Regions from separate parts of the Homo sapiens genome. Here all the other regions are linked to region 2. The links are contacts of gene promoters, found by promoter capture Hi-C in blood cells and fetal thymus (Javierre and others, 2016). All regions are on one chromosome and are shown on one strand. Each heading gives the region's core, a stretch centred on a gene start or on the middle of the fragment in contact. The rest is flanking DNA. Distances are from core to core; before and after follow the strand shown. Region 1 overlaps UGGT2 (UDP-glucose glycoprotein glucosyltransferase 2). Region 2 holds the start of DZIP1 (DAZ interacting zinc finger protein 1). Region 3 overlaps UGGT2 (UDP-glucose glycoprotein glucosyltransferase 2). Region 4 overlaps UGGT2 (UDP-glucose glycoprotein glucosyltransferase 2). Region 5 has its middle 120 kb from the start of DNAJC3.

Evidence for each region. The method cuts DNA at HindIII sites, captures the fragments that hold promoters and counts their contacts. A CHiCAGO score of 5 or more calls a contact.
Region 1: a fragment that was not itself captured here is called in contact with the fragment with the promoter of DZIP1 in region 2 in 1 of 17 cell types (neutrophils); the score reaches 7.0 in neutrophils.
Region 3: a contact is called between a fragment that was not itself captured here and the fragment with the promoter of DZIP1 in region 2, in 11 of 17 cell types (neutrophils, activated CD4 T cells, naive B cells and 8 more). The highest score is 16.4, in neutrophils.
Region 4: a fragment that was not itself captured here is called in contact with the fragment with the promoter of DZIP1 in region 2 in 3 of 17 cell types (neutrophils, M2 macrophages and M1 macrophages); the score reaches 11.9 in neutrophils.
Region 5: a fragment that was not itself captured here is called in contact with the fragment with the promoter of DZIP1 in region 2 in 1 of 17 cell types (neutrophils); the score reaches 12.5 in neutrophils.

What each region holds. Positions count from the first base shown.
Region 1 is chr13:95,855,772-95,859,566 of GRCh38, forward strand. It overlaps UGGT2 (UDP-glucose glycoprotein glucosyltransferase 2), which reads right to left. Exons shown (of 39, transcript NM_020121.4): 34 at 387-569. Among named protein-coding and RNA genes, the nearest start is that of DNAJC3, 180 kb to the left of the region's middle. The HindIII fragment of the contact is 3,067 bases long and covers 654-3,720 here.
Region 2 is chr13:95,643,456-95,647,447 of GRCh38, forward strand. DZIP1 (DAZ interacting zinc finger protein 1) reads right to left here and starts at 1,251. Exons shown (of 23, transcript NM_198968.4): 1 at 922-1,251; 2 at 146-243. RefSeq lists silencers at 864-973, 1,034-1,123, 1,214-1,323 and an enhancer at 1,414-1,463. The HindIII fragment of the contact is 11,159 bases long and covers 1-3,992 here.
Region 3 is chr13:95,813,031-95,817,163 of GRCh38, forward strand. All of the region lies in intron 38 of UGGT2 (UDP-glucose glycoprotein glucosyltransferase 2), which reads right to left. Among named protein-coding and RNA genes, the nearest start is that of DNAJC3, 140 kb to the left of the region's middle. The HindIII fragment of the contact is 2,771 bases long and covers 582-3,352 here.
Region 4 is chr13:95,835,667-95,839,399 of GRCh38, forward strand. UGGT2 (UDP-glucose glycoprotein glucosyltransferase 2) reads right to left here. Exons shown (of 39, transcript NM_020121.4): 37 at 1,420-1,536. Among named protein-coding and RNA genes, the nearest start is that of DNAJC3, 160 kb to the left of the region's middle. The HindIII fragment of the contact is 621 bases long and covers 1,053-1,673 here.
Region 5 is chr13:95,796,085-95,800,392 of GRCh38, forward strand. No RefSeq gene overlaps it. Among named protein-coding and RNA genes, the nearest start is that of DNAJC3, 120 kb to the left of the region's middle. The HindIII fragment of the contact is 4,508 bases long and covers 61-4,308 here.

The sequences.
Region 1 (3,795 bases), core at 937-3,436, 210 kb after region 2:
AGAGTTGTATGTAACTGCTAGCTTTTCTAGCAAGAAGAAATTCCTAGTTTTAAACAAATATCAGCACATAATTTACAGGAATTCATTAACTACTCTTATTATGACTAATATAAGTATTTGTTTTAGTTCTCAAATGTAAAAAACTACTACTTTAGAGAGAAAACTTCCATGTCCTAAATAATAAATGGTACTTCTTACAATACCTTCAATTTTCCCCTGGAATTCTGACTTTTTGTTTTTAAAGATACTTTGCTTATATATCACAATCGTATCTTAAGCACCGTAATGAAGATAATAAACATGAGCAACATGAATTAATCTCTATATTAAGATAGAAGTGTAAAAAATGTTTGCGTATTACTAAAAATAGTAGTTAACCTTATTACCTGGTCAGCATCAACAAAAATGATTTTGTCCACTGCTAGTGGGAAAAGAACATCAAGGAAAAGAATTTTGTAACCCCAAATAATCCTCTGTCTTTCAGTCTGTTGACGAAGCCAACGGGGCCACCTATATTGAACTAGTTCATATCGGAATCCATACTCTTTAGCCATGTGAGGAATTACTTCCTAAAAACACACACACAAAATCAAACAATATGTTCAAGAGAAAGTAGTTTTGTTTTAGAGAAAAAAATAACATTAAAAAGGTAAAGCTTCCTATAAATTGTTATAAACTAATAGGCAAGATGTCTAAATACTACTTCTATAACATACTTATTAATGAGAAATATTAAAATGCTAACAAATATGAAATCACAAGTATAAATAAAACTATATAATTTAACGTCATTAAAAATAAGTGCACTATATTATTTAACAAACTTATTAATGGAAGATAAATGTTCCCATACTTTTATTGTTAACATCTGACTTGAGAAAACTGACTTAAAAAAAAGCCTCTGGATCTTGGAACACCTACATATCAAATAGTTCATGTATATGTCAACAGGTTGGTTGGTCAGAGATGTAAAGATGAAGAGAGGATACAAAAAACACAAAATAAGTTCTAAGCTGATAAATTAGATTCTATACAGGAGCTTCATGTTTGAGATATATCATTATTTAATTCAAGGATTAAAAATACAAAGTAGTGATTATGGTCTGAATATTTCATATTTGAGTATCTTATAGGCTTAGAAGTAGCTTATTCCCTGTTTAAAGCAGAAGCAGTTAATGAAATATACTGTGGGCTAAATTTAGTTCAAGAGCTCAAATACTGAGAGAGAAAATGAAAAAGGAATTGGAAAAGATGAATTAATAAATATAGAATTTGCGTTTTACCACTTGATTCTTACTTGAAACTAGTTTCTGGTTATATGTTTAATTTTTTTCTCTGACTTTGTAAGAACAATGTAGATTTAAAATACTTTTTTTTAAATGCAAGAAGCACCAATTTTATCTGTGAAATCTTGAAATTAGGGGTACAACAGCTGCCAGGAGTCATTGTTTTGGTTTCAAAATAAAATAAAATAAAACATTCAGATAAAATAAAAAGAATATTTTTTCTTCATTAAATATGTGTCCAAATATTCACTGAAACGGGCACTGTTCTAGGATCTAAGGGTACATTAGTGAACAAAAGAAATACAAATTATGACCTTCATGAGGCTTGTATTTTAGAGGAAGTAGGTAGAAATAAACTATTATCTACAGAAAAAAGTGCTATGAAGAAAAATTAAAAGGGAGAGGGAATTATAGTTTGTATAGTGCTGTCAGAAAATAATTATGTGTAAGTATGTATAATTTTAGCAAATATTTGAATGAAGAGAGGAGGTTTGACTTTTCTAAACTGGTAGGAACAAATCTAAAGTAGCTAGCGGCTTCTGTATCTGGCTGCTGATTTACACAGATGTTTGAGTTTGTAAAAATCCAAAGCTAAATTTCATGATTTGTGCACTTTTCTGAGTATATGTTATATTTCACTAAGAAGTTTTCAAAAGAAAAATTTTGAATGAAAGAAACACATCACAAAAAGAAGGAAAATACTACTTCAGATACAGTATTTCTTTTGGCCATGCAGTGGAACAAGACTTTCTAATCCAGACATAGCACTATTGTTCTGGTGAATAATATCTTTTCCTGCTAAGAGAATCTTTAGATTTTTCTATCTCAGTTTATTTGGGTTAAATACTCCCTTATTCAGTGTCTGACTACTAGGAAAGCATGTTAAAAAATTAGTAGAAAAATAGTATAACTTCTTATCTATATTTATAGGTTCTTTTTCTGTTTTTTTTTTTTTTTCCTACTGTCAAATGAGCATAGGAGGAGACACTGTTGGTGGTGGAGGGCAAATGGGCTGTTACATAAGGTTAAGCACCTGAGGTCTGAATGCCTGGGTTCAAATCTCAGCTGTGTTTCTAATTAGCTGTTTCATATCAGGCCTATGCTATAAAGGATGATTCTTGCTCAAAGAAAAGTATGGCCCTTCACCCTATCTCCCAGGAAATATCCCCTACCCTGGCCCTTCACCCTATCTCCCAGGAAATATCCTCTACCCTTGGAATTTCCTGACTAATAAGAATGTCTACGTTTACCTGCAGATCTCGGACCACACTAGATATTGTATGCTAATGATGTTATTTGTAGTGAGGACCTTGGGCCACAAAGCATCAGTTCAACATCTGAAGGGGTTAGAGGTTAAGGTTAGTCATGCAGGCCGTTAGCCAAGTCCACACAGCTGACCCTCAATAAAAACTCTGTACCACAAAGTTTGAATGAGCTTCCCTGGTTGGCAATACTCCACGAGTACCCTCACACACTGTTGCTGGAAGAAATAAGTGCTATCCACTGTAACGGGATTCTACTGGGAGAGGACAACTGTTAACTTTGTGTCTGGTCTCCCCGGACCCTACCCTAAGCATCTCTTCCTTTTGCTGATTTTATTTGTGTCCTTTTGCTATAAAAACTGTAACTGTGAGCACAGCTGTTTTTTGGAGTTATATAAATCCTTATAGTAAGTTATTGAATCTAAAAGTGGTCTCAGGTACCTCTCAACTGTGCAAGCTAGTTACGTAACTTTTGAATCTTGGTTTTCTTATCATGTGGGATTGTTATGAAAAACAATTGAATAACGTCAGTTAAACACTTGGCATCATGCCTAGAAATATTAAGGAATAAAAGCATGCTTGGCTAGTTTTACTTCTGTTTTCCCACTGCTTTTGGTCTAGAAAAAACAAACTCATTTGAAATGCTGTTGAATGAGACACCAAATTGCTGCGGAGACACTAAATTTCACGGAATTTGATTATGCTGTAGGGAGAATAGGAAGAAACAGAGTATACTTTGTAGCAGGAGTATAGGGCTGAGTAAAGGGTAATAGCTGTTGATCACCTGAAATCTTCTAAATATAAAATGCCTCAGATCATGGTGCCCAGCAATCAATACACTACACAGACGAAAGAGCTTTTTTGTTTCAGTACTGTAAAACTATTTTCTACGGTATAGGTATAGTCTTTGTATTTTCTTGATACTACTACTGTTTCTGCCTATCTTTGCAAAAATGACAGAATCCATTTCTTTTAATTGAAAATCTGTATATATTTTCCATTGCCAAATTGTATTTAATTACTCATTATCATGAAAAACTACTAGCCATTCTGATTTTGATTTTACTTAAAAATATACAGTCTTCTGTCCTCTCCTTTGAACATCTCTAAATAAAAATTGTACAGAATTTTTCTTAAGCTACATAAAAATACTAAATACCATTTTTTCAAAAAGCTTATTCTGAAAAGAGAAATATCATATAAACTTACAATGATACAAATAATTTACTATTCAAACATTAACCATT
Region 2 (3,992 bases), core at 1-2,500:
TCCCTGCAACCAGGCATAAAAAGTGCTAAAGACATAAATAGTTTCAAAGTTTGATTCTGTCACTTACTTGCTCCCTGATCTAGAACAAATTGTCAGCTCTAAGACTTAGCTTCCTCCATCTGTTTAAGAGCATCAAGACACCGACCTGGCAGGTCTGTAGATTCTGGACTCCATCCACTGGGCTGCAGGATCAGCGGGAACAAGAGCTGTGGTCTCTCTTGCTCAAGTATACGTCCCTAGAACCTAGCAGAGGACAGGCACGGAGAAGGCGTTCAGAATTTGCTGAATGGACACGTGAATGAAGAACGATCGAATGACTTAGGCGCTTAGTTAAGGAAACATCAGCTCCTGGCCCTTTATCCCTCCTATTTTTGCTGCCTCTGGCCTGTTAGAACGATTAACCCATGATCTGGGCCAAGGGCTTCAGAGCTGAACGTGGGGGTGGCCCGCGCGCCCCCGCTGAGATCTGGGCGCAGAGGCCTGCGGGCCCGAGGTACCCATCTCCGTTGGCCGCCACACTCCATCGTGGGGCGTCGTGCCGCTGACCACCCCTTTCCCCTTGCGTGGATCTCGGTCACAAGATGGCCGGAACAGGAAAGAAGGGGGCATGCTTTCCCGTTCCCTCCCTCCCCCATCCCGGGCAGGGCCCCCAGCCTTGCGCGGCGCCTCAAGTCCCAGGCGCATGGCACCGCCGGGCAGCCGAACCAGCAGACAAAAGCCGAGAGACGCGGGTTCCAGGGGAACCTCGGCGCCCTTCCTTGGAAGGCAAACAGGCAGTGGGGGCAGCGGCGGCTACTCCAGCTGGATCTGCAGAGGCTCGGCTCGCAGCCTGGAGAGGCAGGAGGGCCGGCTTCGCGGGTATCGGGATGCCCCGTCAGCCACCTCCTGTGGGCGCCTGGCGCATCCCCGGTCTCGGCTCACCCCAGCTGCGCGCTCCTGGGCGGGTGCCGGGCGCTGCAGGCGGGCGGGGGCGACACAGGGGACCCAGACCCCAGGGTCGCTGCTGACGCGGGCCGGGCCCGCGGAGGCCGAGGAGCAGCAAAGCGGAGAGAGGCAGGCCGGCTCCTTCTTGCAGGGCGCAGGATGAAACGTGTCTGGTCTGGGCAAGTTGTGGCGAGGCGGGTCGACTGGCGCCGCTCTAGGGCCTTCCAGACTCCGGACCACGGACGACTCAGGATACCCCACCCCCCTCCCGCCCCCTCCCCTCCGCGATCTCCCTCCGGCCTCTTCCCTCGGTGTCCCGGCTCCTCTGGCAACTGGGCGGGACCGCGAGCGTCTAGACCGCAGCGCTAAAATGCGCTCAGCCAATCCGGCAGCTGGCGCAGACACGTGGTTCGGGGGCGCGCTCCGTTGCTGGCCCTGGATGCTAACCCTAGGAAGGCTTTTCAAAGAGAAACCAGATTCGCTCCTACCCGGTTGTTGGTCTGGCCCTCAGCAAGCTAATTTCCCAGAGGAGCTTCAGGTGAATTATCTTCCAAAAAGAGATGCGTTTTAATCGCAGAAGTCTGCAGATGCGAAGGACCTTGAAAAGGCTATCTAATGTGGCCCTGCATTTGAGTGACGTGGAAAACCGAGATTAGGGACTTTTCACCAAAGCCCTCTAGGATTTAAACCCACGTAGGTTTCTGCGTCTCTTTCCGTTATGCCCACTTCAGGATGAAAGGCACGGATCTTTGTTGGTAGAAAGTTAGGCACTGAATTACAGGAGATGTGGGTCCGGAGTAGTGTGCTCATTTATGTAACCTAAAATTGGAACACGTGGGACAAAAGTCAGTATTTTTAAGTAACAAGTAATCCAGAACGTATGTATATACCATCATGAGAAATGAAGGCATCTTTTGCAAAACCTAAGTGTCTAATGCAGCTATATATATATATATATATAATATATATATATATGTTTTTAAATTAGAGAGGAGTAGCTGCAGAACTTTTACTGGACCAACATGCCGTTGTAAAAGTGCCTTTCCTTGTGCTTCTCCCTGACAGAATCAACTTTGTACCATACTTTAGCACAAGGCTTCAAACATAGCAACAGCTAAATATGTATTTATGTTGAATTCCTTGCTTTAGTTTTATTTGAAGCCATAAGGCCAAGATGACCATGATGGGATTTTAAATTGGTCTAATTTTAAAATTATTTTGAAAGAAAATTCAAGATCTCTATAAAAATCCTCTAAGTACTATGGGGAAAGATTTCTAGATAGAAATTTCAGACAATAGGCCGAGCGCAGTGGCTGACGCCTGTAATCCCAGCACTTTGGGAGTCCGAGGCGGGTGTATCACGAGGTCAGGAAATCGAGACCATCATGGCTAACACGGTGAAACGCCGTCTCTATTAAAAATACAAAAAATTAGCCGGGCATGGTGGTGGGCACCTGTAGTCCCAGCTACTCGGGAGGCTGAGGCAGGAGAATGGCGTGAACCTGGGAGGCGGAGCTTGCAGTGAGCCGAGATCGCGCCACTGCACTCCAGCCTGGGCGAGAGAGCGAGGCTCCGTTTCAAAAAAAAAAAAAAGAAAAAAGAAAAGAAAAGAAAAAGAAAGAAAGAAAAAAAAAGAAAGGAATTTCAGACAATATGAGATAGATAGGACCATTGCTCTGCAAAATCCGGTTTTTGCAAACTCGGTAGCTGTCTGTGTGTGTGTGTGAGAGAGAGAGAGAGATGATTGCTTAATTAATATTATTTGTTGACATACCATTTGAGTTACATGTATTTCCCATCCCCACTGTCAGTATATTACCCTACAGGTGTAGAATTGGAATAAGAAGAATCAATTGACTTTGGCATGACTTAGCAGCCATGATGCATTCTTGATCTATGCACAAACCACTTTTACCAATTGTATAATGGTATACATATTTTTAATGATTAAGGTATCTCTCTCGTCGGTCAGACTATAAGAACCTCAAGTATTCCAGCATTTTGAGCATTTAGTAAGTCCTCAAATAAATATTTGCTTTTTGAAGACAGAAATGATCCTAAAGAATGAAATAATAATACTGGTGAACATTAATCATTTTGTACAGTAAATAAACAAAAGCATTGTAGCTGAATTTATTTCAAATGATTGTTTCTGTTTCTCTCATTTGAAAATAGTTATTGATATTACCTGGCTAATGTCCTTTAGTATGAAGGCGATAAATAAAGAAGGGCAGAAATCACATGTGTTGTCTGATTCAATACATATTAATTATTTTGCCTCATATTCCCATTTCAGATACCTAACCTTGGTTTTATATACATGGTTTAAAGAATAATAGGCCAGGTGAGGTGGCTCAAACCTGTAATCCCAAAACTTTGGGAGGCCAAGGTGGGCAGATCACCTCAGGTCAACAGTTTGAGACCAGCCAGGGCAACATGGTGCAACCCCGTCTCTACTAAAAATACAAAAATTAGCCGGGCATGGTGGTGCACACCTGTAATTCCAGCTACTCAGGAGGCTGAGGCAGGAGAATCACTTGAACCTGGGAGGCAGAGACTGCAGTGAGCTGAGATCATACCACTGCACTCCAGCTTGGGCAACAGAGGGAGACTCTGTCTTGAAAAAGAAAAAAAAAAGAAAAAAAAAGGAAGCAAGTTTATTAAGAAAGTGAAGGAATAAAAAAAAAATGTACTCCATAGGCAGAACAGCCTGTACCACATTTTTTAAATCCAATCCACTGTTGACAGGCACTTTGATTGATTCCACGCCCTTGCTATAGTGAATAGTGCTGTGATGAACATATGGGTATATGTGTCTATTTGATAGAATGAATTATTTTCATTTGGGTATATACCAGGTAGTGGGATTGCTGGGTTGAATGGTAGCTCTGTTTTAAGTTATTTGAGAAATCTCCAAACTGCTTTCCACAGTGGCTGAACTAGTTTGTATTTCCACCAACAACGTATAAGCATTCCCTTTTCTCTGAAGCCTCGCCAACATCTGTTGTTTTTTGACTTTTTACTAATTGCCATTCTGACTGATGGAAAACGACATTAACAGACACTTC
Region 3 (4,133 bases), core at 717-3,216, 170 kb after region 2:
ACCATAAATCTCTTTATAAATCACCCAGTCTCAGGTATTTTTTTATGGCAGTGCAAGAATGGCCTAATACAGAAAATTGGTACCAAGGAGTGGGACACTGCTATAAAGATACCTGAAAACGTGGACACAACTTTGGAATTGGGTAATAGCAGAGGCTGGAAGAGTTTGGAGGGCTCAAAAGAAAACAGGAAGATAAAGGAAAGTTTGGAACATCTCAGAGATTGGTTAATGGTCGTGACCAAAATGCTGATAGTGATATGGACAGTGAAGTGAGCTCTCAGATGGAAATGAGGAACTGGCTGGGAACTGGAGCAAAGTCATACATGTTATGCTTTAACAAAGAACTTGGCTGCATTCTGTTTGTGCCCTAGGGATCTGTGGAAGTTTGACTTCAAAGCGATGATTTAGGGTATCTGGTAGAAGAAATTTCTAAGCAGTAAAGTATTTAATATGTGTCCTGGCTGTTTCTAGCAAGCTATGCTCAGATGTGGGAGTAAAGAAATGATTTAAAGTTGGAACTTTTAAAAGGGAAGCAGGGTGTAAAAGTGGAAAATTTGCAGCCTGGCCATGTAGAAAATAAAAGCTTGTTTTCAAAGGAAGAATCCAAGCAAGCTGTGGAGCAACCACTTGCTAGAGATATTCGCATAACCAAAAGTGAGCCAAGAGCTAACATCCAAGACAATGAGAAAAAGTCCTCAAAAGCATTTCAGAGACCTTTGCAGCAGCCCTTCCCATTACAGGCCCAGAGACCTAGAAGGGAAGAATGGTTTCATGGTCCAGGCCCAGGGTCCTGCTGCCCTGCACAGCCTCAAGACACTGTTTTCCTCATTCTGACCACTCTGGCTCCAGCATCGGCTAAAGGAGCCCCAGATATAGCTCAGACTGCTACTTCAGAGGGTGCAAGCCATTAGCCTCAGTGGCTGGCATGTGGTGTTAAGCCTGTAGGCATGCAGAGTGCAAGAGTGAATGAGGCTTGGCAGCCATCGTCTAGATTTCAGAGAATGTATTAAAAAAAGTCTGGGTATCTAGGCAGAAGCCTGCTGCAAGGGTAGAGTCTTAGAGAGAACCTCTACTAGGGAAGTATGGAGTGAAAAAGTGGGATTGTACCCCCCACAGAGAGTCCCCACTGGGGTACTGCCTAGCAGAGCTATGAGAAGAGGGCCACTGTCCTCCAGAGCCCAAAACAGTAGATCCACTGGCAGCTTGCACCTTCAGTGTGGAAAAGCTGTAGGCACTCAACTCTAGCCTGTGAGAGTAGCCTCGGGGGTTGAACACGGCAAGGCCACAGGGGTGGAACTGCTCAAGGCTTTGGGAGCCCACCCTTCATATCAGTGTACTTGGATGTGGGACATGGAGTCAAAGGAGATTATTTCGGAGCTTTATGATTTAATGACTGCCCTGCTGGGTTTTGGACCTGTGTGGGCCTGTAGCCCCTTTCTTTTGGCCAATTTTTTCCTTTTGGAAGAGGAATGTTTATCCAATGCTTACATCTCCTTTGTATCTTGGAAATAACTAACTTGTTTTTTATTTTACAGGCTCATAGGCGAAGGGATTTGCCTCAGATCTCATGTCCTTCTCACATTATAAAATACAATCATGCCTTCCCAATAGTCTCCTAAAGTCTTAACTCATTCCAGCATTAACTCAAAACTCCAAAGTCCAAAGTCTCATCTGAGGCAATCTCCTTTGACTTCAACTCATTCTATTAGACAAGCATTACTTTGACATTAACACCAGATAAAGGCATTAAGAAAATTATAGAACAATATTCTCCATGAACACAGATGCAAAAATCTTTAAGAAAATTTCAGGAAATTAAAACCAGCAATATATAAAAAGGATCCTCCATCATAGCCAAGTAGACTTTATCTCAGAAATACAAGGTTGATTAAACACTGTAATGTCAATCAGTATAATTTATATATTAACTACAAGAGAAAAGCCATATGATCATCTCAACAGATATTGAAAAAGCATTTGACATACTCAAGTATCAATTTATGATTAAAACTCCCAGTAAACTAGGAATAAAAGGAAACTTTTACAGCCTGATAAAGGACATCTATGAAGACCCAAAGCTAACATCATCCATAATGGTCTAAAACTAAATGCCTTCTCACTAAGATGAAAAACAGGCATGGAAGGGTATCTGTTCTCAACCCAGAGGCCCTTGCCAGTCCAGCACAACAAGAAAAATAAATAAAACACATTACTATGAAGACTGGAAAGGAAAAAGTAAAACTATTTTTATTTGCTGAAGATATGATCCACTGTGAAGACAATCCTGTGAACTCTACAACTATAACAGGACCCATTATGAAAAAATTCCTAAGAACTCTACTAGAACTAATAAGTGAGTATAGCAAAGCCACAGGACATAAGTCCAATATACAAAAATTAATTGTATTTCTATGTATTAGCAACCAACAAGAAATTTAAAAATACCATTTATATTAGCATTCAGTTATAAAATTCTTAGTAAAATATGTACACTGCAAACTAAAACTCTGCTAGGAGTAATTAAAGACCAAAATAAATCAAGAAACATATCGTATTTATGAATTGGAAGCTCAACATAATCAACACATTAATCTTCACCAAACTGATTTAAAACAAGAGTTGCAATCAAAATCTCAGTGGGCTTTTTTGTTTTCCAAAGAAATTCAAAATCCAAAACTTAAAAAAGAGCAAAAATCTTGAATAGGCACTTTGCAAAAAAACTTATAATATACAGATGGCCAATAAGCACAACGATATGGTTTGGATCTGTGTCCTCACCAAATCTCATCCCCAGTGTTGGAGGTGGGAGGGTATAATTCCCTGGTAGGAGGTAACTGGACCACGGGGGCAGAGTCCTCATGAATGGGTTAGCAGCATTCCCTCGGTGCTCTTCTTGTGATAGTGAGTGAGTTAGTGTGAGATCTGGTTGTTTAAAAGTGTGTGGCACCTTCCCCTTCTCTCTCGTGGTCCTGTTCCTCCAATGTAAGACACCTGCTCCTGCTTTGCCTTCCACCATGAATAAAAGCTCCTTGAGGCTTCCCCAGAAGCAGATGCTGCCATGCTTCTTGTAGAGCCTGTGGAACCACATGAGCCAATTAAACCTCTTTTCTTTATAAATTACCCAGTCTCAGGTATTTCTTAATGGCAGTGTAAGAACGAACTAATATTATAATTAGTCTGTAGGGAAATGTAAACTGAAACTACAACAATATATCACTATGCATCCATTAAATTAAGAGAGTGATATCAAATGTTAGTGAGGAAGTACAGCAATTGGAACTCTCATATGTTGTTAGTTAGAATGTTACAACCACTTTGGAAAACAGCTTCTCAGCCTCTTAGGTTAAATACAAGCTTTCCATATGACCCAACACCCCCATACTACTAGGTATTTACAGAAGAGAAATGAAAACATATGGTCCAGACTAAGACTAATAATAGCCCCAAACTGGAAATAACCCAAAGGTTCATCAAATAGAAAGGATAAGCATAGAATAGTATATCTATACAATGGAATAGCATTCAAGAATAAAAAGGAATAATCTACTGATATATTCAACAACATGATAAGTCTTTGGTTTCAATTTTGTGAATTCAAACAAAAGAATATATACTTATTCAATGTATGGCACTGGAGGAAAGGCACAACTGTTACAACAGAAAGCAGCTTAGTGATTGTAAGAGTTGGGTGTGGAAAGGAAGGTTCTGCCACAAAGGTGAATTGCAGAGCTGCATGAGGTAAGGAAAATGTTCTACATCTTGATTGTGATGGTGGTTACATGACTGTATATATTAGTAAAAAGTCACTAAACTGGGCTGGGCACAGTGGCTCATGCCTGTAATCCCAGCACTTTGGGAGGCCGAGGCAGGTGGATCACTTGAGGTCAGGAGTTCAAGACCAGCCTGGCCAACATGGCGAAACCCCCTCTCTACTAAAAATACAAAAATTATCCAGGCATGTTGGCACATGCTTGTAATCCTAGCTACTTTGAGAAGCTGAGACACAAGAATCGCTTGAACCCGGGAGGTGGAGGTTGCAGTGAGCTGAGATCACACCATTGCATTCCAGCCTGGATAGCAAAGCAAGACTTTGTCTCAAAAAAAAGTCACTAAACTGTAAGCTTAAAATTGGT
Region 4 (3,733 bases), core at 113-2,612, 190 kb after region 2:
TTCGTCAGTGAAGATCTTGTAAACAATTTTCTACACTTAGCACATTAAAAACAATATACTAGGAAAAAAACTTATTATACCTACTAAAGACAAGGTAGTAGTGGAATATAAAATCTAAATGGACAACAAATAAATTACTTTGAAATATTTTATGTTTAGGAGAGTTAAACTGCACAGCATAAACTGCTTTAAATGAAAATCTAGGAAAAATAATCTCTTAAAAATAAGTAAGAAAAAAGCATGTATGATATATTTTAAGTAGACAAAATTGTCTTGTTTGCCTTTATTTGGGGGAAAATATTGGCAGGATAACTAAACTGAAGACATGTCAAGATGATAGCTAATCCACAAACATTTTCAGCTAGCTCTCAGCCCTTTTTTTTTGTTTGTTTGTTTTTTTGAAATGGAGTTTTGCTCTTGTCTCCAGGCTGGAGTGTAGTGGCGCCATCTCCGCTCTCTGCAACCTCTGCCTCCCAGGTTCAAGCAATTCTCCTGCCTCAGCCTCCTGAGTAGCTGGGACTACAGGCATGTGCCACCACGCCCAGCTAATTTTTTGTAATTTTAGTAGAGATGGGGTTTCATCATGTTAGCAACGCTGGTCTCGAAGTCCTGACCTGAGGTGATCCACCTGCCTCGGCCTCTTAAAGTGCAGGGATTACAGGCGTAAGCCACCGTGCCCAGCCCTCTAAGCCTTTTTTTCAAAAGTCCTTTTGCAGAAAAGAGTTAATACAGAAAGCCTGAAATTGCTATTCTTAGAAAGACCTGCTTGTAAGTTTGGCTCCTCGCTGGCATCTGGGAACACAGGGTTCAGGATGGTTCTCACCATTCCTTTATAAGAGTAACTCACTGTGTCTAAATTATCTGTGCAAAGGTGTTTATGCTAAACACTTGCTTTCCTCCTGAGTGCTGGAAATTTAGGTGTGTCTCAGGCAGACAGTGCTATATGGTCACCAGCCCCCAGTAAAACCCCTGGACACTGGGGTTTCTAATAAATGTCCTTAGTAGGTAATACTTCACACTGGTTGTGGAATCTCTTATTGCTTGAGGAATGAAGCTTGTCCCGTGTGATATCACAGAGAAAGGACTCTTGGAATCTTGCACCTGATTTTCTCTTTGCCCCATGTGCCTTTTCCCTTTGCTGACTTTGCTTTATATCCTTTCACTGTGATAAATCAAGCCATGAATATGATTATATTTTGCATCTCATGAATCTCCTTAGTGAATCATCAAACCTCAGGGTGGTCTTGGGGGCCCCCAAAATAACCCTATACTTGCCAACCTAAGTAAATGTGTAATAGACTGAACAGCAGAAGAAGCGAAGTAATACGTATGCCACTCCCTTTGTAAAACAGAAAGAAAATATTTCTATTTAAACATTTCTGTATCTGCTTACATACAAATGAAAACAAAGACACTCACCAGATCAATTGTTTTGGCTCTTTGTTTGGATTCATCATCACACCAGGTTTCACACCACAGCCAGTCTTGAGGAAGAGACTTAATGGCGACTTGGTAAATCATATTATTGGGGAGATCCTACAGAAAATTGTGATTTAATCATAGACGTATGAAATTTAGAGTCAGAAGGAAAGAAGCTGAATGAAGTAAGACATCAGTTAGACTGTAAACAGATCATAAAACATATGCAAATCTGAGATTTCTCTACACTTTAAAGCTTAAAATACCTAAGGTGATCCAATCATCTTGTGTCATGAATGAATCCATGCACTGGAATATACCTACATCTCTCCTAGACTCTACCCCTGGGAACAAGGATGAAGAAGGAGGCATAGAAACCTACCATTCAATAGTCCCCACAATGGACAGCCTCACTACCTCTATCTGCCTCTATTGCTCACATTATGCCTGCAATTACTGTTCATATTGGTCACCACAATGCTCTCTGGATTCTGAGGTGAATTTTCATCTCCCCATTGGAAACAATGATCCATGAATATTTTCCCATTTCTGCATGCTCAGAGCTCTCTAAGTAAAGATTGCTGGCATCTGGGTTAATGGATGTTTGACTGGCAAACTAGCCTAGTAAGTTAGAGACCTTTGGAGAGAATCAGACAAATCTTCCCCAGAGATATTTGTTTATATTCCAGGGGTGGAGTCCTTCCCTTCCTTTCCCTATAGAAGATCTGCTTATATTCAAGAGCAAAGGCATGTTCCTCTCTCTCCAAGAGTATGAAGGGTACTTGTGCTGGTTGTCCTACATAAGCTCCAAGATTCACAATTTTAAGGTTCTTCTCTCAACATCCCTATTAAACATCACACTGAAAGTCCTAGCAAATGCAATAAGACAAGAAAAGGAAAATGTATATAGATTGGGAAGGGAAAAAAACCTGTCACTGTTTGTGATAACAGGATTGTTTATGCAGAAAATCCCAAGAATCAAGGGAAAAAACTTCTGGAACTGATAAGCAATTTTAGCAATGTTACAAGATAAAAAGTTAATATACAAAAGTCAACTGCTTTTCTATATACCAGCAATGAACAAACATAATTTGAAATTTAAGAAAACACACCATTTACATTAGCACCGAAAAAGAGAAATACTTAAACATAAATCTAATAAAATATGTTCCTCAACAAAATGAAAACTACAAAATTCTGAGGAAAGAAATCAAAGAACACTGAAATACATGAAGAGATATTCTATGTTCACACATAGGAAGACTCCATAGTCAAGATAACAGTTCTTCCCAGATTTATCTATAGACTTAACACAATCCCAATCAAAGGCTTAGCAAGTTATTTTGTGGAGATTGGCCAACTGATTCTAAAGTTTAGGGAAAAAGGAAAAGATCCAGAATATCCAACACAATATTGAAGAATAAAGTCAGAGGGCTGACACTACCACACTTGAAGTCTTACTATAAAGTTACAGTAATCAAAACAGTGTGGTATTGGAAAAATAAGAGACAAATACATCAATGGAACACAATAAAGAGCCCAGAAATAGAAAATTACCCATACTTTCTGCTCATTTTTTTTGTAAACCTAAGACTGCTCTAAAAAAATAAAGTCCGTTAATCAAAGAAAGAAAAACCTTAACTGTCCCTTCTGACACCCTTAGTTCCTTGGAATCCCTTCCTTAAATAACCTGGCCTACCATATTATCTAAGCTACTAACTCAAATGGTTATATACTAGACCAAGTCTTCTATACTTTCAATTTCATGGTGCCACTCTCTGACCACCTCTTGATTTTTGGCTCACTCCACTGAGTACTCAGATATCAATATCCTTTGACCCCTTGGAACCTCCAATCAACTGATTTTACCACTATTTCACTGTCCCTCATTCCTTGATGTATTCACCCCTATATAGTTATTCTTCTGAATATACTCTCAACTGTCTTATTCTTCTCTCACTTAGTTGTACTTTCTTGACAAAGTCATAGTCCTGATTAAATCTCAATCTCTGTAACTGTTCTCATGGAACTCAACATGGCTGAGTTCCATGAGTACAGGACACACACACACACTACCCCCCATGCCGACTGTTTTTTCATTTTAACCTCCTGAATATAAATCTTAGGGGAACTTTAATTCTGTCAATTATATATATGGGTCTACTCTGTTGTCACTTAGCTGATCTTTAGCTGATTATTTCACACACTGTCCTCATATCCTTCCCTAACCTCCATGTACCTAATAATCTACTTTCTGTCTCTACGAATTTGTTTAGTCTGGACATATCACATAAGTAAAATTATACATTATCAG
Region 5 (4,308 bases), core at 1,065-3,564, 150 kb after region 2:
CCTGAACTCTGCAAACCCTTTTATGCTGAGCAAATCCTTTGGGAATGCTTCTATGATAAAAGCTTAATATGCATATTTATTGCCTTATACTAGGATTCTGTTTCTAATGAAGCATACAGGAGATAACTCAGCTTGCATTCCTATTTTGAACACATTTCCAGCCTTCACTCAGTTCTGTTTTTCCTGATCAACTCAGTCTACTGGGATAAGCATCCCTCTGACAGATACTCCCAGGGACTGGGCCGCCGTGGCTTGGAAGGGCCACTGGGAACATTAGTGCCAAGGTCTGAGGAAACCAGAATTGAACATATGTAAAAAGCATAAGGGAGTAACCACTGCTTGCAGCATTTCTGAGTGGATTTCAACTGCTCTTAAGTCTTCTTGGTATTTATATACTTCCTTGTTATTACAGGAGATTTGTATAGGTATATCTTTGAGTACAGTGTGCCATTTGTAGGTACGGTTAAAAAGGATTTTTCCTTCTTACACTGTTTTCCCTAACTACATGCAGTTTTGCTCCTAAGTATGAAGATGCTTTTTCTCTAAACTATCTGTTAAAAGGATAATTCTTTAGAGATAAAGCATCTTCATACTTAGGAGCAAAATTACAAGTAACTAGTTAGGGAAACCAGTATAAGAAGGAAAAATCCTCTCTAAAGTATCTGTTAAAAGGATGAATCTTGGGCTGGGCATAGTGGCTCACACCTGTGATCCCAGAACTTTGGGAGGCCAAGTTGGGTGGATCACCTGAGGTCAGGAGTTCAAGACCAGCCTGGCCAACATGATGAAACCCTGTCTCTACTAAAAATACAAAAAATTAGCCGGACGTGGTGGCAGGCGCCTGTAGTCTCAGCTACTTGGGAGGCTGAGGCAGGAGAATCGCTTGAACCTGGGTGGCGGAGGTTGCAGTGAGCCAAGATTGTGCCACTGCACTCCAGCCTGGGCAACAGTGAGACTCCATCTCAGAAAGAAAAAAAAAGGATAATTCTTTTAACAAATTACGTACATTTCACTGTGTCAAGTTTTCTTAGGATTTTAGATACCCTGTCACTTCATATATACCACCGGTTGCACTATTTTGTTTCCTGCAATGTTTGTGGCTTTGTTATCTCAAGTTACAGTGGAAAGACTTCATTCTATGGTTAATGTTTGTACAAACAAAATAGCATCTATTCCTCCTACTGAATGCATAAACATTAAGCAATTGTGGAATGAGGGGAGGGCTCTCCCTGTAGGACAGGGCCTCAGATGAGAGGAAATTCATTATGGACATTGAACAATGAAAAAAAGCAGCATTAGCAAATCTAGAGCTTTTGTCCAAAAAGTTGGTACTGCTGTTATGAATAAGGAATTAGGAAACAATGCAGGCATAAAAATATTCACCGAGCAGTTTAGGATTTATATGAATGGATGTTAGCCCTTCACTGCGCTTGAGGATCAAATCACAAAAGCTCTTCACATGGTTCATAAACTCACTTGCCTTGTCACCCAGGCTCCAACCTCATGGGCCTTCTTTCAGTCCTCAAACGAACAAAACTCCTTCCATACTATTCTTTCTTGCCTGGCTAGCACGAACTTTTACTTCAGGTTTCATCCTAAAATGTTACTTGTTAGGTCTGTCTTGACACTTGCCCTTCACAACATTTTCATTTGGGTATTAATGTCTGTCATTTATACTGTCTAGTAACCTTAAGAGGACAGCTTGGCACACAGTAGGTACCTAAATTATTTGTTAAATTGTTGAAATATTTGTTCAATCTGTTCAGGGCAGAGAGACCTACCATATTACTGGCCTTATTTAGATGAAACTTTTTAGAAATCGTTTTCTGGTGGAAGCAGACCGTGGGGAAACAAAGGAAAAGCTACCTACCAGCGTGAGGAAGACAAACACGGCAGAGGTCTGTGGCAGGACATTTGTATGGAAAGTAGTTTCAATCTGATGCTCTAGACTAGACACTCTACTACAGGATTAGTTCTATTTATTTCAACATTCATCTTACCCAGTAAAGGTAGTACCATAATTATTCCTCCTCTCCTTTTCCTGAAAATTTTAAATTAAACATATTCAAATAATGGTTTGAAGCCCATCTTTAAAATCTGAATAATTTTTCTTCAATTCTAATAAAAACCTTTCCTTTTTAAAGTAAAATCACATCAGGTAGGATACAAACTTTACATAGTTGAGCAGATCCACATGATTGAAGTAAACTTCTTCACTTCAAGTAATTATTAACTGTAGAGGAGAAGATTATTTTCCAAATCAGAGATCTTTACAACAGAGGTGTTACTAGTTCTAAGTCAAGAGGCTTTACCTGAGAATTTCTCAGAAAATAGAAGTTTGTATTTGGTAAATGGGGTTAACAAATAGAAAATGGGGAACAGCTGTCACATTACGATAACACTTGAAGACTTTAAAAAAGAGAGGTTCTAGAATGGGCTTACACACCTGACCGAGCCCCTCTAACTTACAAAGTTACCTGTAATTTTGGCCATCAAAGCCCTGGACCATCATGTTTCCTCTTCCTCACTCTGCCACCAAAGGTGAGATTTTAACCAATCAACTGGTTCTTTAGAAGTGAGTGGAGCCCCTTCAGTCTATGAAGTAACAGAAGTGAGTGAGACAATGGCTGGGTCATAACTTCTGCTTGTTGGTTTGAGCATGGGCCCATCAGCACCTTTTACTTCATCTCTGTAACTATGGATCTGAGACACATGATCCACGTGTTCATCTGACTTGTCCCGTACCTCCTGCCCATGAAAGTATTCTGTTGGGTCCCTGGAGCCTCTTCTGGGCAGTGGCAATTTGTTGTCTGGTTGCTTTTCAGGTGCTGGAGTCAGGACCTGGCACACAGCAACAAGCAGTTCTGTGGGCAGGTCCCACTTGTGTCAGACTACATGTTTAATATTAAAAGCCTGATTTTATAACCCCAGGCTGACATGGCTTTAGGTGCCTTTAGAAGTATTTGATGCTATCCTTCTAGGAGCTATGTTGTTCTCTAGGAGCTTGAGGGTAACTGGAGCCAAATGACAGGCATTTCCCAAATACAATCTTTTGGACCTAAGTGTTGGAGGTGGTATGCTGACTTTGGATTGTCTTAATGCTCAGATTCTGGGTCTACTTTCTACATAAAGCTCACACATCACTGTGGGTCAAACACAAATGCTTCTCATTCTTAGTTTAGATACACTGTTCTGACACTTTTTCTAAGAAGGCAGAAAGAGAAGACATTTATCACTTCCCATAGTTAGAAACTAGTTCCCCCACATTCCGCTGACCTCCACTACTTCTAGGATTTGATTTTTGTTAAAACTTGACATAGGGCCTGCAGCCGAGAACCAGAATTTAGGATCCTGAATATACCATGAAAGCCGTTGGACTATATTTGTTCAGCATCTCCAGGACAAGGAACTGAATGGCTTTCTCTCCAAGTGTTAGCAAATAAGACCTATGGTTCAGTTATGTAATGTGTCCCTGAGGAGGGTACATTTTTGTATGGCACAGCAGTTTGTATGCATGAGAGCTCTTGACATAACAGCATTTTTAAAACAAGCCATTTAATTAAAACATCTCACTGTAAAGAAATACCTTATTTATAAATCTGGATTTTCTGGTATAAGGTGTCACTCACCTGGAAATGTAACATGTAAACTGGCCACTCAGATCACAAGATGCAAACAGGGAGGGGGGCCATCAAGACTGTGTTTACATTGTTCTGTAATTTTAGCTTAATACTCCATGAAAATATGGGACCTAGAATACTGGAGAAGGCCATTGTAGGTAATAAAAGTAGGAATCCGGTGTCTCTGCCCAGCTGATCATCCTTTCTATAAGATTCTCACAGAAGTGAAGACAGGCTGGTAACAAAGGAAAACAAAGTACCATCTTATAGTTGAGGTTTGTGCCCCAGCCACCGCAGCAGACCTCTGGGTAGCTGGGTGGAGCATCTGGCCTGACCTAGAACCTTACAGAGTCTCACCTCTTACCAATCCCCAGCTTCAGCTGACTCCCAAGAGTGAGCCGGAGAGCACCATGACGCTGGCCGCCCCAGGACCATTTACTGCTCCAGCCTCTGAGTGTACCCTATAGGATACTCTGAACTCACAGGAATAACCTAGTTCCACCAGAGCAGGCCATAAATGGTGCACTCCATTTTAATACAGACAAACACGAACAAGTAACAAAGGGAGGATGACTGCAAGAGGGAGAGGCAGGCGCTCTCTTATTAGGAATGAATGGAGCTGATGGGAGGAGTAGTATTTTAACTCTATGGGCTGTTCTGTCAAACACAGAAGGATTAGCCTTGTTCT